Linked DNA regions of Homo sapiens: regions 1, 2, 4 and 5 are each linked to region 3. The links are contacts of gene promoters, found by promoter capture Hi-C in blood cells and fetal thymus (Javierre and others, 2016). All regions are on one chromosome and are shown on one strand. The core of a region is centred on a gene start or on the middle of the fragment in contact, and the rest is flanking DNA. Distances in the headings are between cores, read along the strand shown.

Region 1 (2,767 bases), core at 46-2,545, 250 kb before region 3:
ACAGTGTTACTTATAGTAGTTACAAATTGCAGTATATCCATACTATGAAATACTTCTCAGCAATAAGAAGGAATGAACTACTGATCCTCAAAACAACATGAATGAATTTCAAAACAGTATGCTAAGTGAAAGCAAGAGACACAAAAGACTCTATTTAATTCTATTTACCTGAGAGTCTAAAAAAGTCAAAAGCAGGTGGTCGGCAGGACCTCAGGAAAGAGAACTGACTGCAGTGGGTTAAGAGAAAACTTTTTGGGGTGATGGAAATTTTATCTTAATTGAGGTGGTAGGTGTACTTCAGGTGTAGGTTATACCTTTGTAAAGCTGGGAGAAAAAGAATGTAATGTAACATGTAGTATTTTACTGATTTTAACTACATAACACCAGTTGATAAATGCCTAGAGAAATAGCCTGAACTGTAGAATTGGCAGTTGTGCTCAAGGTGGCTCACTGGTCCACAGCTATTAATGATATATTCTCCCTTAGTTTCAGGTTCGCTCTAGTTAAAATCATGGCTTATGGATCATCATATGATAGCCCTTGTTGAAGTAGGTGGAACCATTTGTTCTGTCAGCAGCTACCCACCTGGATATTTTTGGGGGTGGCCAAAATTACTTGTAATGAAAAACCCACTAATGCCTAATTGTATATCCCAGCATGAAAGGGGAAAGATCAACTCCATGCATCATGTAGATGTTTCTGCCCTCGGAAGCAGGAAATGGTAGGCAGAAAAACAGTGTCGGCTGCATTGGAAGAAGCGAATCCAGCTCATGAGTCGAGGCTCTGCAGCCAGATCATCTTACACTTGTCCCTGGTGAAGCATTTGAACTGGAGCCAGGGCAGTCTGTGAGTACTGCCAAAAGCCTTTATTACAGAAGATGCACACCTTCTTAGTAAAAACTGGGAGCTCTAGTATTAAAGTGAAAATTAAATGGAATTGATTTTTGTTCTAGCTTAGAAAAAACTTAAATTCTACCACTACAGCCTCACAGTCCTGCAGTGCTCTTCTAGTTTTGTTTGTTTTTTGTTTTTTTAGACGGAGTCTCGCTCTGTCACCCAGGCTGGAGTGCAATGGCACAATCTTGGCTCACTGCAACCTCCACCTCCTGGGTTCAAGCAATTCTCCTGCCTCAGCTTCCCGAGTAGCTGGGACTACAGGTGTGTGCCACCATGCCTGGATAATTTTTGTATTTTTAGTAGAGACGGGGTTTCACCACGTTAGCTAGGCTGGTCTCGAACTTCTGACCTCAGGCGATCTGTCCACCTCTGCCTCCCAAAGTGCTGGGATTACAGGCGCCCAGCCTGCTCTTCTGTTTTTAAATTATTTTTGAATTGATCTTTTTTCACATTTTAATTTTTTTGGTTTAATAACGGTATGAGAGTAGGAATTCTCCCTGATGTGTAGGGTGAAAACAGTTGAGTTTCAGAGAGATCAATAACTTACTCAGAAGTCACATAGCCAATAAATGAGTTTGAGACACTATAAAAGAGTGACTTGGAGTCCACAGACCACTCACTGATTTGCATTATTTACTTATTTATGCGAAAGTAAATAATGGGACTTTCTACACTTTTTAAAAATATAAAAATAATGGGAGACAAAAAGTTAAAAATTGTTAAGTCCAATACTTTAAAAAAACTCTGCAAACTGTGGCCTTACTGAGTTAATCTACCTTTCTTCCTCCTGATTCCCTGAAGTAACTAACTGCTGTTAACAATTTAGCCTGTATTGTTCCTTAGTTTGGACATTTTCCTTGATTTGTACAGTCAGCCACACACACCTGCTCACATTTTTGGGGGTCATGCTCTACTTACTGGTTTGCAACAAGTTTTGTTTTTTATTTTACATATATCTCATGACATTTCACTTAATATGCCCCATTTTTTCAGGTCAGTGCCTATAGACCTATCTCATTCTTTTAAATGAGGTAATATTCTATTGTACAGATGTCCGTAATTGTTCAATTATTCCCTTGTTGGTGGACATTCAGTTGTTTCCAACTGTTTGCAATTATAAACACTGCTCCAATGAACCCCCTATCCTGCTAAATAGCACTGGCTTAGGACCCCAAGGAAAACCAGTCCTAATGGGTGCAAGACTGTATAAATATCCACATTTGACAGACACATTCAGAGATGCATAGAGTTCATTAGATATTTCTTTGATGTGACGTTTGTACTTGAACTATATATTATTCCAGTACCTTACATCTTAGATGTAGAAGTCGCTAGGTCAAAGGATGTGTTTTGAATTTAAAACATGTTGAATGACTGTTCTCACATTTTAAACAGGAGTAATCTACTACAAACCAGCCAGCCTAACCACTGCCCCTGCTCTCAGCAATGATGGGCTCATCAGCTTGGTAAGAGAGAACATTACTCACAATCTTGCTTCTCAATCTTAATCTATTTGTGCTTGGTGTTTTATATAACATCACTAACCCTAATACTTGAGTATTTACTTTGGCCCTTCTGTCCATTTTATCCAAAAGCAAACAGATAGCCTTCAAGGGACACCATTGCCTTAAGCAGAATATGCCTCCTAAGCATTGAAAGCCTTTGACCCATCTGATATCCAAGTTCTGGCTTATTATGTTATTAGGGCCTTGAATAACTTTATGTATATTATTATGGACTGAATGTATCCCCACAAATTCATGTTGACCCTCTGACCTCCAGTGTGATGGTCTTTGGAGATGAGGCCTTTGGCAGGTGATTAGAGCTAGATGAGGTCATGAGAGGGAGGCCCTCATGAAAGGCTCAGTGG
Region 2 (2,700 bases), core at 105-2,604, 230 kb before region 3:
AAATTCACAGAAACTATGAAAGCTCACAAAATATCTGTCTCTGAACTGGATCTGTTCTTTTTATTTTTATTTTTTTGCATATTCAAAGTTAGGAGGTTACTTCTTTGGAGCTGCATAGTGCTTGGCACAGTATGTGAGGCCAGAGGGAAAACGGTTCACGGTTCTACAGGACAGCAAGGACAAGCTATAGGGCAGATGACTGTGTAACAGAGGGGAAAAAATAGGGATAACTGTCCTGAACGGGTGGATTTGAGGGATAGGGAGAAGAGAGGAAAGAGTGCAGATGGTTGATAGGGAACATAAGAAATATATGGAAGACAGGTAAAGAGAATGGTGCAAAAGGCATGATAAGGGAAAGACATGAGAGCAAAAATGGTGAGAATAAGTATTCTTTACTTTGCAAAGAACAAATGTAAAACTCCTTCCCATAGAGAAGTATAACTAGACTACAAAGTATACAAAATATACAGCATATTCAAACACCTAGACCCAGTGATTCCACTCCTAGGAATTGATTCTAAGAAAATAACCAGAGACGATAATAAGGCTGCTCATGAAGTTTACATACAGGGATGATTCCTGTTTGGTTCTTGTTGGGTTATTTCAGCTCATGCCATTTAAGTCCAAAAAGTAACACATGCTCCATTACAGAAACATCAGAAACAAGCAAAAATGCAGAAAGTATGGAACATACATCATAATAAGAAAGACTCTAGAACAATAAATCAAGCATATTATGCTGCTTACACCAAAAATGAGATAAAAACCACGCTGCCTTATTTAATAATATAGCAGGAACATTTTCCATGTGAAAAGACAAATTTCTGCAACCTCATTTTCTATGGTTTCAAGGTAACCATAAGTGAGATGTTTTAAACAGAATACAAGCTTTACAGAAAGTATGATCCTAATTTTATATAAATATATACTTGTAAGCATGGATAAAATGTCAGAAGGAAATAAAAATGTTAAGAGTAATTTATTCTCTGTGTTGTGACATTACAGATGACTATTATCTTCTCTATACTCCAGGATCTTCCAAATTTTCTAGTCAATACCTGTTATTTTTATTATAATAAAATGAAATCAAGGAGGAAAAAAATCAGAATGTGAAAATCAAAGTGTTTCAAAACAGACTAAACTAGAAATGATTGTTTATAATTTTCACATCATGCCAAAAAAAGAAATATCCCTAAGAATCTATATGATAAGCAATATACCATTCCTCCATGATCCAAGTAACTTTTAAAATAAAGGCATACAGGCTGGGTGCGGTGGCTCATGCCTGTAATCCCAGCACTTTGGGAGGCCGAGGCGGGTGGATCACGAGGTCACGAGTTCAGGACCAGTCTGGCCAATATGGTGAAACCCTGTCTCTACCAAAAAATACAAAAAAATTAACCAGACGTGGTGGCGCGTGCCTGTAGTTCCAGCTACTCAGGAGGCTGAGGCAGGGGAATTGCTTGAACCCGGGAGGTGGAGGTTGCAATGAGCTGAGATTGTGCCACTGTATTCAGCCCGGGTGACAGAGTGAGACTGTCTCAAAAAAAAAAAAAAGAAAAGAAAAGAAAAGAAAAAGCATACAAGATGTGTTTCCAGCCTTACCCTATGGATTGCATTGTTTGAAATACAGTCAACCTTTAATTCAGTTTGCCATCCAAGGTTTATATGTATCCTTTTAAATTATTTGGAAAAAAAAAGGAATCATTACACAAAACTAACATTTTCCAACGTTCAAATGCAGAAAGTTCTAAATCGCTTTGATTTTTTAATCTATTTTCATTTTCAGTTATAAAACTTGATATTTAGGTAAAAGCTTGAGCTTTATTATATTCTCATTACAGGAAACAATAATAGAGGCAGACAAGCTCCAGTGTGTAGAAAAGAATGCTAATAGAGCTACCCTAAGCATCAGAACAAATTTTAAAAGTAAATGCTTATATAAACACATAAAATAGAGTGTTTTCATTCTTAGCCAAACAGAAACACTCCTTTTTTTAGTGAACATCACTGGGTATCTCAACAGCAGACCCTAAACCTGAAAACTCCCAGCATTTATTAATTCTGACCCTACATCACATTCCCATATGCAGTTTACTGCGACAAATTTCCATTCTATCTCCAAACATCTTCCCTGAAGAATGCTATTGAACAGGCCAACACAACACAAGGTTAGCGCTAGTGAGAAAGAAAGGGAGAGAACAAACCCATTCAGTCAATTGTTAGGAAAGAATGCATTCAGATCTTGAAACTATTTATGCTGAGAACTCTATGATTCTGGCATCTTCCCCTCTGCCAGGTCCCCTGCTGAGAATGTGAAGGGACTTCTCTGCCCTTGGCTGCCTTCACAGAGTAAGCTGAAGCCAGGAGCAGAGTAAAAGCCAAGACCCACTTCTTTGCAGATGCTGCGAATGCTTTGTAGGCAAGCAGACACTGACATTAAAACAAACTGAAACAAACCAAAACACTGCAGTTACTCTAGAAAATAACTTTTAGTCATAGATCAGTCAATGTTTCCTAGTTAACAGACTCAGAATATTTATTCTTTTCTATGCTAGCTCAAAATGAAATCAGTTGCTGAGAATAATGCAGATGAGATTCAATAGCAGCCAAATCACAAGGAGGAGGCAACATTATTCATGAATATGAATATAAATGATTACGGAGAGAAACCTACATGTAATTAGCATATGTATAGGG
Region 3 (2,731 bases), core at 142-2,641:
CGGCGCGCGCCCAAGCTGCTGGCGTGCTTGCACACCTTCTGCCAGGAGTGCCTGAGCCAGCTGCAGCTCCGCGCCGCCGCCGCCGCCGCCGCTGCCGCCGCGCCTGAGCGCCCGCCGCGCCCGCCGCCCTGGCTCTGCCCGCCCGGCGCCATCGCGTGCCCGGTGTGCCGCCACCGCACGCCGCTGCCCGACAGCCGCGTGCACGGCCTGCCCAACAACACCAAGCTAGCCGAGGCCTTCCCGCTGGCTTTGCGCGCAGCGCACGACCCGCTGCCCCAGGACCGCCTCCCGCCGCTGCCCGCGCGCCTGCCCGCGCCCGCTGCTGCCCCGCCGCCCACCCCGGCCCCGCCACCGCCGCCCTCCCCCGCCCCACCGCAGCCGCCGCCGCCGCCGCCTGCCGAGGACGCGGCCCCCGGGCCTCGAGCCCGCCCCGGCCTGCGCGCCCCGGGCGCCTACGACAGCTGCCAGAACTGCAAGCGCGCGGCGCTCACCGCTGGCTGCGTGTGCGTGGTCTTCTCCTTCCTCTCCATGGTGGTGCTGCTCTTCACCGGCCTCATCTTCGTCAACCACTACGGCGGCGGGGGAACCCCCGGAGGCGGGGCGCCCCCTGGCGAGGCACCGGCCACCGGGTCGCCCTCGCCCTCGCCCGTGGGGCCCATCTGCCTGTCGGTGGCCAGCATCCTGGCACTCTTCTCGGTCGTTGTCACCTGGGTCATCTGCTGGCTCAAGTATCGGCCCGAGGGTGCGGCCGCGGGCTCGACGGGGGGCAGCGGCGGCGGCGGCGGCCCGAGGGCACGGGCTGCGGCGGGCGGCGCGCGGAGGAGCGACACATAGCCGGGCCACGCCGCGGAACCGGCGCCTGCACCTCCAGCCCCGCGTGGCGGGAGAAGAGGGGGCCTCTGGCTCGGTGCGCTCGAGCTTCTGCACCCTCTCCCTGCTGCCCCCGGGCTCTCCTGGACTCACACTCTCTCCCAACTCGGCCACTGAGGAGCCTCGGTTTTCTGTCCCTCGGGCTTCTGTCGCCCCTCGCCCTTCGCGCTGGGCCAGAGAGGGAAACTGAACAGGAAGGGATGTTGGTGGGGGGGGGGGGTCTCTTTTGCCTGGACTGTGCAAAATTGACCTCCGCGTTATGCACCACCCTCGTCCTCGTCAGAATGTGCGGCCATCCCTCCCTAGAGCACAAAGATCTGCAGAGACGAAGCAAGGGGAGGGGGAGCCCCACCGCCCCGCCTGAAAGCTGGTTTTCTGGCCGCCAGGACTTGAGAGTTTCTTTAAAGGTGCAGCTGCGCGCGTGCACACGTGCATCTGTGGCGGCTGTGAATGGACTTGAATTGCCCGGAGGAAGAATGAATGGGATGTAAACGTGAGAGGAAAAGGATTTCCTGCTTCCTAGCGGTCCTGGAAAGGGAGAGATCCTGAGCGCTGAGAGTGACGGACACTCCCCGCCGGCACAGCGCGGGCGTGCCCGGAGCTCAGGCAGCAGCTGGGCGCGATGGGGCAGGTGCACGGCGCGCGTGCGCGATCGGAGCCGACTCGGAGTGGCCGAGGCTGCGGCGCGCCCAGGGCGGTGGGCCCTGTTGCCCATGGCCGGGTGTTGTCTGGAGCAGAGCCTAGAAGTCTCATCTCCTGGAAGCTTGTGGTTGTTTTATTCACGGTGTTACTGCCAGGAAGTCTTCTGTAACTAGACTCAGGGAGCTTAAAGAGCCTGTTCTCCCTTCTCTCAAAAGTGGCTTACGGTTGCCCCCACCTGGAAGATATTGAAAGCTATTCACACAGAATATAAACTAGATTTTCTCCTTCCCCTCGCCTTTTTTTCTTAATTTCATTTAACATATAATTTATTTTTGAATATATAAATCTGGAAATTTTTGTGCATTAAGATTTCCAGAAAATTGTTTGATAAGCAGTGACATTATTCCCATACCTCGAGTCCAAATACATTTCGAAATTAGGAGCAGAAAATAAAAGCCTGTTGGTAATTGATTCAATATTTTATACTGTGAAATAACTAATGACTTTTAATTATCTGATAAAATATAAACTAGTGCCCAAACATGAAATCAACTAACTGAAGGTCTTTCTGCCTTTGGCTACAAAAGATATATATCGTATACACTTATTAGAAAGTATTATATGATTTTGAATTTAGCTGTTTGATATTGTTGGAATTACTGAAATGTTCACATACAGTCACATGAGATGAAAAAGAATATATATCTATCTGATTTTGTAACTACAAAGATGAATTGCCAGTATATGTTGCAAGTGGGTTAGATGCCTTTTTTTTTAAGAAGGAAAACTGTTCCAAATGTATTTTATATGAAAACATTCTTTATTCCATCTTTTGAAATTTGGAATAAGACAAAGTTTTCATGCTTAAAAATCACAGAATCTACTGAAGGTATGCTATTATTCCTCGAGTATTTATGCAAGCTGTCTGCATGATATCCTGACACTATTCTATTAATTGAACTTGAATCGAGCATTTGTATCTATCATAGGAGTGAAGTAATTTATTGGCCATTGATAAGTGGTTTGGCTGCAATGTAGAAACTACAGTATGAAGTGTTTTATGTCTGCATTGTCTTAATAATAAAAACAAGAGGTATTTATAGAAATATCTATTTTCATGACATTAATTTCATGGTAAAATTGCTCCATTATTTGTGTGGCACTTCTCTTCCTTAAATACATGTCCCCTTCTAAATCCAAATTTCACATTTTTAAATGG
Region 4 (2,746 bases), core at 140-2,639, 210 kb before region 3:
TTTTCAGATGGAATCTACTCCAGGTGAAGATGCTGTGAACATTGTTAAAATGACAAGAAAGGACAGAATATTACATAAACGTAGTGGATAAAGCAATTGCAGGGTTTGAGAGAATTAACTCTAATTTTGAAAGTTCTCCTCCAGGTAAAAGGTTATCAAATATCATCACATGATTTGGCATATGTAAAGGGGAGAAAAATAAGGAAAAAAACAGCATTGGCATTCTACAAAGAAATCTTTCCTAAAAGGAAGAGTCAATTGATGCGGCAAACTTCATTGTTGTCTATTTTAAGAAACAGGACACGCTGGCTCATGCCTGTAATCCCAGCACTTTGGGAGGCTGAGGTGGTATGATTGCTTGAGCCCAAGAATTTGAGACAAGCCTGGGCAACATAGTGAGACACTGTCTCTAATAAAAATACAAAAATTAGCCAGATGTGGTGGTGCATGCCTGTAGTCCCAGCTACTCGGGAGGCCGAGGTATGAGAATTGCTTGAATCTAGAAGGCAGACATTGCAGTGAGCCAAGATCTCACCACTGCACTCCAGCCCAGGTGACAGACTGAGATGTCTCAAAAACAAAAACAAAAACAAAACTTGCCACAGCCCCTCCACCCTTCAGCAATGACCACCCTACGCAGTCAGCAGCCATCAACACTGAGCCAGACCCTCCACCAGCAAAAACATTATGACTCACAGAAGGCCCAGATCATTGTTAGCATTTTTTAGCAGTAAATTATTTCTAAATTAAGATATTATATGTACATTGCTTTTTTTTAGACATAATGTAATTGCACACTTACTAGACAACAGAATAGTGTAAACATTTTTATATGCACTGAGAAACAAAAAAAAAATTGTGTGACTTGCTTGATTGTGATATTGACTTGATGGTGATGGTTTGGAACTGAACCCGCTGTGATTCTGAGTTAGGCCTGGATGTCACACTATGTTCATCCATTCATCTGTCAGTGAACACTTGGGCTCACCTTTAGGCTACTGTGAGTAAGGCTTCTCTGAACATGGGGTTTCAAATATCTTCAGAGAGATTTTTTTAGAAGCTTCCCATGGGGTTTGAATATGCAGCTATGGTTGAGAACCATTATAAAAGACATTCCCTAGAGATTGTGAGGGGCCCAGGGAAGGGGCACGCTATCATAGTTGGCTCAATCCAGTTATTCCATCCTAACTATATCATCATGTCAGGTAATCAGCAGTGTAGACATCTGTCTCCTTCAGTAGACTTGGACACCTGAGGGGTGGCATAGGTTTCTTTACCACAAGAGCTCCCAGATCTCATTCCAAGTCCAGGGGCCTGTAGGAGCTGATTAAGTTGCTGCTGAATAAAGGCAACTAATCCATAATTCTACCTTATCCTACTATTAAAACCAACTGTTCCCTTCTACTAAAAATTACTCATCATTGCACCCTAGGCCATTCTCTGGTCCTGTAGCCTGACTGGTACCTGGGCCTAAGCCTGAGTCAGGGTCTAAGATCTTTATGAAATAAAATTATGAGCATGAAAGAAGCCCTGGGTCCTGACAGAACAGATGGGGTTGGGGACAATGGTTGCTGTGGCCTCTTGCTCCAGCTTCTTCTGGGACAAATGCTCCCAAAAGGGGGCGGTGCCCCTTCCCTGGGCCCCTCACAATCTCTAGGGAATGTCTTTTATAATGGCTCTCAACCATAGCTGCATATTCAAACCCCATGGGAAGCTTCTAAAAAAATCTCTCTGAAGATATTTGAAACCCCATGTTCAGAGAAGCCTTATTCACAGTAGCCTAAAGGTGAGCCCAAGTGTTCACTGACAGATGAATGGATGAACATAGTGTGACATCCAGGCCTAACTCAGAGTCACAGCGGGTTCAGTTCCAAACCATCACCATCAAGTCAATATCACAATCAAGCAAGTCACACAATTTTTTTTTTGTTTCTCAGTGCATATAAAAATGTTTACACTATTCTGTTGTCTACTAAGTGTGCAACTGCATTATGTCTAAAAAAAGCATATAATATTCCTTGCATCTGGATGACAGGCCTAATCTATCTTCCCCTAAATATCTGCTTACTGTCCCCACAACTCACTTTAAAAAGAAAAAGCTGTAGCTGTGTTTCTATTGAGGTGGGTTTTGTGTACTCTTTACTCATCTCTGTAGCTCTACATGCTCGTGCTTACTTTCATTTTAACTTTAACCCGAGTTCTCGAGATCATTCTTTTTTAAATTTTACTTTAAGTTCCGAGATACATGTGCAGAACATGCAGGTTTGTTACACAGGTATACGTGTGCCATGGTGGTTTGCTGCACCTATTGACCATCCTCTAAGTTCCTCCCCTCACCCCCAACCTCCCAACAGGCCATGGTGTGTGTTGTTCCCCTCCCTGTGTCCATGTGTTTTCACTGTTCAACTCCCATTTATGAGTGAGAACATGTGGTGTTAGGTTTTCTGTTCCCGTGTTAGTTTGCTGAGGATGATGGCTTCCAGCTTCATCCATGTCAAAGGACATGATCTCATTCCTTTTCATGGCTGCATAGTATTCCATGATGTATATGTACTACATTTTCTTTATCCAGTCTATCATTACCAAGATCATATTTTATTAAAGCCTACAGAAATTAAACAGTAGCCCCAGATAAAAAGAGATGCCAGAGAACCCAAGAGTTCTTCATTCCATATTGAAGTCTATGAACATATTTGGAGAGAACCTCTTTGTAACACGAAGTGGCAGTGTAGCAAATAGAGAACGC
Region 5 (2,700 bases), core at 21-2,520, 190 kb before region 3:
GGCAACACGGGAAGTAATTACAGACCATTAACACCTTAGTAAACTGGCTAGGGGCCCCCACATGGTATTGAAGGATGGCATGGAGGTCCCGTAGGTTTTCACGAAGGGGAATTAGCCTATTTTCTTCTTCTGCTCTGAATGCAGGATAAATGTAATATATAGATAGAAAGAAAATCTGGTTCTCTGGATAGTCGACCATTCACCCCAGGCAGACAAAAGGTTTTCCAGGGAACCAATGCGGTCAATATGAAACTTGTCCTTACAGTGTGGAAAAGCTTCCAGCATGGGCTCTGTTCTGGATGGCTGGGCTCATATGGGGACGGCAGAGAAAACGGCACTTTTTCTCTTAGTGTAGTGGCCCTTTCTGGTTATTACAGTAAAAAATGACAGTGTGTACCATGTCTAACACATTTCCAATTAGCCAGACTTTATTCTTTACACTAGCATAAATAACACCTAAATAATTTTGAAAACAAAATATTTTGAAATAACATTATTACTAGTAAACCAGCCACAGGATTTTAAAAAGCCAAGCCACACTTCCATTTTTGGCCCACATTAATATAAGACGCTTCTCCTCCTAGCTTCTTCTGAATGTCTGCCTTCAAACTTTTCTCTCTGTTAACATCTTCCATTCCCTGAAGGAAAACAGGACATGATGAACTGTTTTACACTTTTGTTTACATTTTTGTATACACTACGGAGCTGCCCCTGTTTGTCTTCATCCCCGCAAAATACCCTCATCTGAAAAGAGCAAAGGCTCCATATGATCATAATAAAACCTAAGTCCTCTGCAGGATGAACGGAGCACCAAGAGGCTCTTTTCAAATTACACCCACCATATTAAAAAAAATTGAAAGATCCCAATATCTTTTTTCCTTCCCTTGGCTACACTCATAGCCCCCTCCACCATGGAGAAATAGCAAAAGTGATGTGCTGTTAACTAACAGGAGCATATGATTATTCCTCATGTCTCATGGGGTAGAAACACTGCAAACTGCTGGGATTTACAGTCTATCTACGGGTTTGTTTCCAAAAAGTCAGGAACTGGTTATGTCATTGACTGTTGGAGGCAAGAGAACAATGAGCTGTAACCCAAAGACCACAGCCTCTCTACCAGTACGTACCTATCCTGTTTCTTAATTTATCCAAATGCATCTCATTCCCTTTTTTTCTCAGCTTACCAGTAAGATGACTTGGATAAACAGACACCAGACACTCATCCATTCCACTCCTAGGTGTATCCCTAAGAGAATGGAAAGCATGTGTCCTCACTGGAACTTGTATGTAAATGTTGTTAGCATTTGGTAGCCTCATTCTTCTCAGTTTCCAAAAAGTTTAAACAACCCAAATGTCCATCGACTGATAGGCAGATAAACAAACTGTGCTATATATTTACAATGGAATATTATTTGGCCATAGAAAGAAAGAAAGTACTGGTGAACACAGTAATGCTGAGTGAAATCAGAAGTCAAACACGAAGGACACACATTGTATGATTCCATTTACATGAAATGTTCAGAAGAGGCAAATCCATAGAGATAGAAAGTAAATTAGCCCCACTGCCTACGGTAGTGTGTGCTAATGGATATTGGGGTTCCTTTTCAGGGGGTAAAAATGTTCTGAAGTGAGATAGTGGTGATGGTTACACAACTCTGTGAATATGCTGAATTGTATACTTTAAAAGGTTGACTATTATCATATGTGGATTATATCTCAATTTTAAAAAGAAAGAGAAATGAGACATCAAGATAAGTCCTGGTGTACCTTTTCTATGTGTTCTTGAAGTCTCTTGTTCCAAAATGTTATTGCAATGCCTTCACATATTGATTTCAGAATAGAAGAAGAAGCAAACTATTAGAACTATTAATAGTCTTTTCTTCAAAAATCCTGTTCAATTCTGCCCGTCCACAGGGCACTGAAGTGAGTACATACCAGAGAGCTGCTGAAAATCCACTACTCACAACCATAAGTACACAGGATTCATTTTCAGAACAACTTTTAGCTTTGGAGGCTTTCTTTAAAAGCTACATTATATTTATTAATGCCTAAAATATTGCTCTTATCAAAATTAGTATATCATTATATGTCATAACAATTATACTGATTTTTTTTTGTTAATACATAATAGTTATACATCTTTTGGGGGGACATGTGATATTCTGACACATGCATACAATGTGTAATGATCAAACCAGGACAACTGGGACACCCATCACCCCAAACATTCACCTCTTCTTTATGTTGGGTCATCATGGAAGCTTCTCAAATCAACAGTCTTACAAAAAAGAGATTGACTGCACTAGATTGTGTTTTTGTCTATTCAATGTTCAGTCTTTTTTTTTTCTCCTTGGAATACAAAGTGCTCTGTGGTCTCCTATTTAGCGTCTGGGAGTGAATTAAAAGCAATTCTTGGTGATGGTTATTTGGAAACACTCTAAAGGCTACTGTTTACCATCCAGTGTGAAAAGCTATTTCCAACTGGTGAATAGCCACTCATACTTCTGGCATTATTTTTATTTTTTAAATTCAGAGCTTTTTTGCTTTTTTTGCTGGATGTGATGTGTGTGTGTGTAACGCTGGGAGAAGCAATTTTAATTTCAAACTAGTACAGTGCTACTCATGTCTAAACCACCAAAACAAAGCAAGCACCATAAATCATAGAAGATAATCAGCAAACTGACATTTATATATTTCAAG

What was found. Contacts are between HindIII fragments. The CHiCAGO score rates a contact against its expected background, and 5 or more counts as called.
Region 1: a fragment that was not itself captured here is called in contact with the fragment with the promoter of CT75 in region 3 in 10 of 17 cell types (M0 macrophages, M1 macrophages, M2 macrophages and 7 more); the score reaches 21.2 in M0 macrophages.
Region 2: a fragment that was not itself captured here is called in contact with the fragment with the promoter of CT75 in region 3 in 8 of 17 cell types (M0 macrophages, M2 macrophages, M1 macrophages and 5 more); the score reaches 14.2 in M0 macrophages.
Region 4: a fragment that was not itself captured here is called in contact with the fragment with the promoter of CT75 in region 3 in 2 of 17 cell types (M0 macrophages and M1 macrophages); the score reaches 6.3 in M0 macrophages.
Region 5: a contact is called between a fragment that was not itself captured here and the fragment with the promoter of CT75 in region 3, in 4 of 17 cell types (M1 macrophages, activated CD4 T cells, monocytes and 1 more). The highest score is 6.2, in M1 macrophages.

Annotation. Positions count from the first base shown.
Region 1 is chr2:222,567,106-222,569,872 of GRCh38, reverse strand. FARSB (phenylalanyl-tRNA synthetase subunit beta) reads left to right here. Exons shown (of 17, transcript NM_005687.5): 17 at 1-2,767. Among named protein-coding and RNA genes, the nearest start is that of FARSB, 88 kb to the left of the region's middle. The HindIII fragment of the contact is 4,865 bases long and covers 1-2,767 here.
Region 2 is chr2:222,548,741-222,551,440 of GRCh38, reverse strand. All of the region lies in intron 4 of SGPP2 (sphingosine-1-phosphate phosphatase 2), which reads right to left. Among named protein-coding and RNA genes, the nearest start is that of FARSB, 110 kb to the left of the region's middle. The HindIII fragment of the contact is 928 bases long and covers 891-1,818 here.
Region 3 is chr2:222,317,131-222,319,861 of GRCh38, reverse strand. CT75 (cancer/testis associated transcript 75) reads right to left here and starts at 1,391. Exons shown (of 4, transcript NR_136642.1): 1 at 492-1,391. RNF228 (ring finger protein 228) reads left to right here. Exons shown (of 1, transcript NM_001395871.1): 1 at 1-2,731. The coding sequence ends at 834. RefSeq lists a silencer at 477-806 and enhancers at 1,277-1,326, 1,103-1,698. The HindIII fragment of the contact is 3,961 bases long and covers 1-1,635 here.
Region 4 is chr2:222,526,465-222,529,210 of GRCh38, reverse strand. The region is part of intron 4 of SGPP2 (sphingosine-1-phosphate phosphatase 2); the gene reads right to left. Among named protein-coding and RNA genes, the nearest start is that of SGPP2, 100 kb to the right of the region's middle. The HindIII fragment of the contact is 654 bases long and covers 1,063-1,716 here.
Region 5 is chr2:222,508,777-222,511,476 of GRCh38, reverse strand. All of the region lies in intron 2 of SGPP2 (sphingosine-1-phosphate phosphatase 2), which reads right to left. Among named protein-coding and RNA genes, the nearest start is that of SGPP2, 86 kb to the right of the region's middle. The HindIII fragment of the contact is 1,986 bases long and covers 278-2,263 here.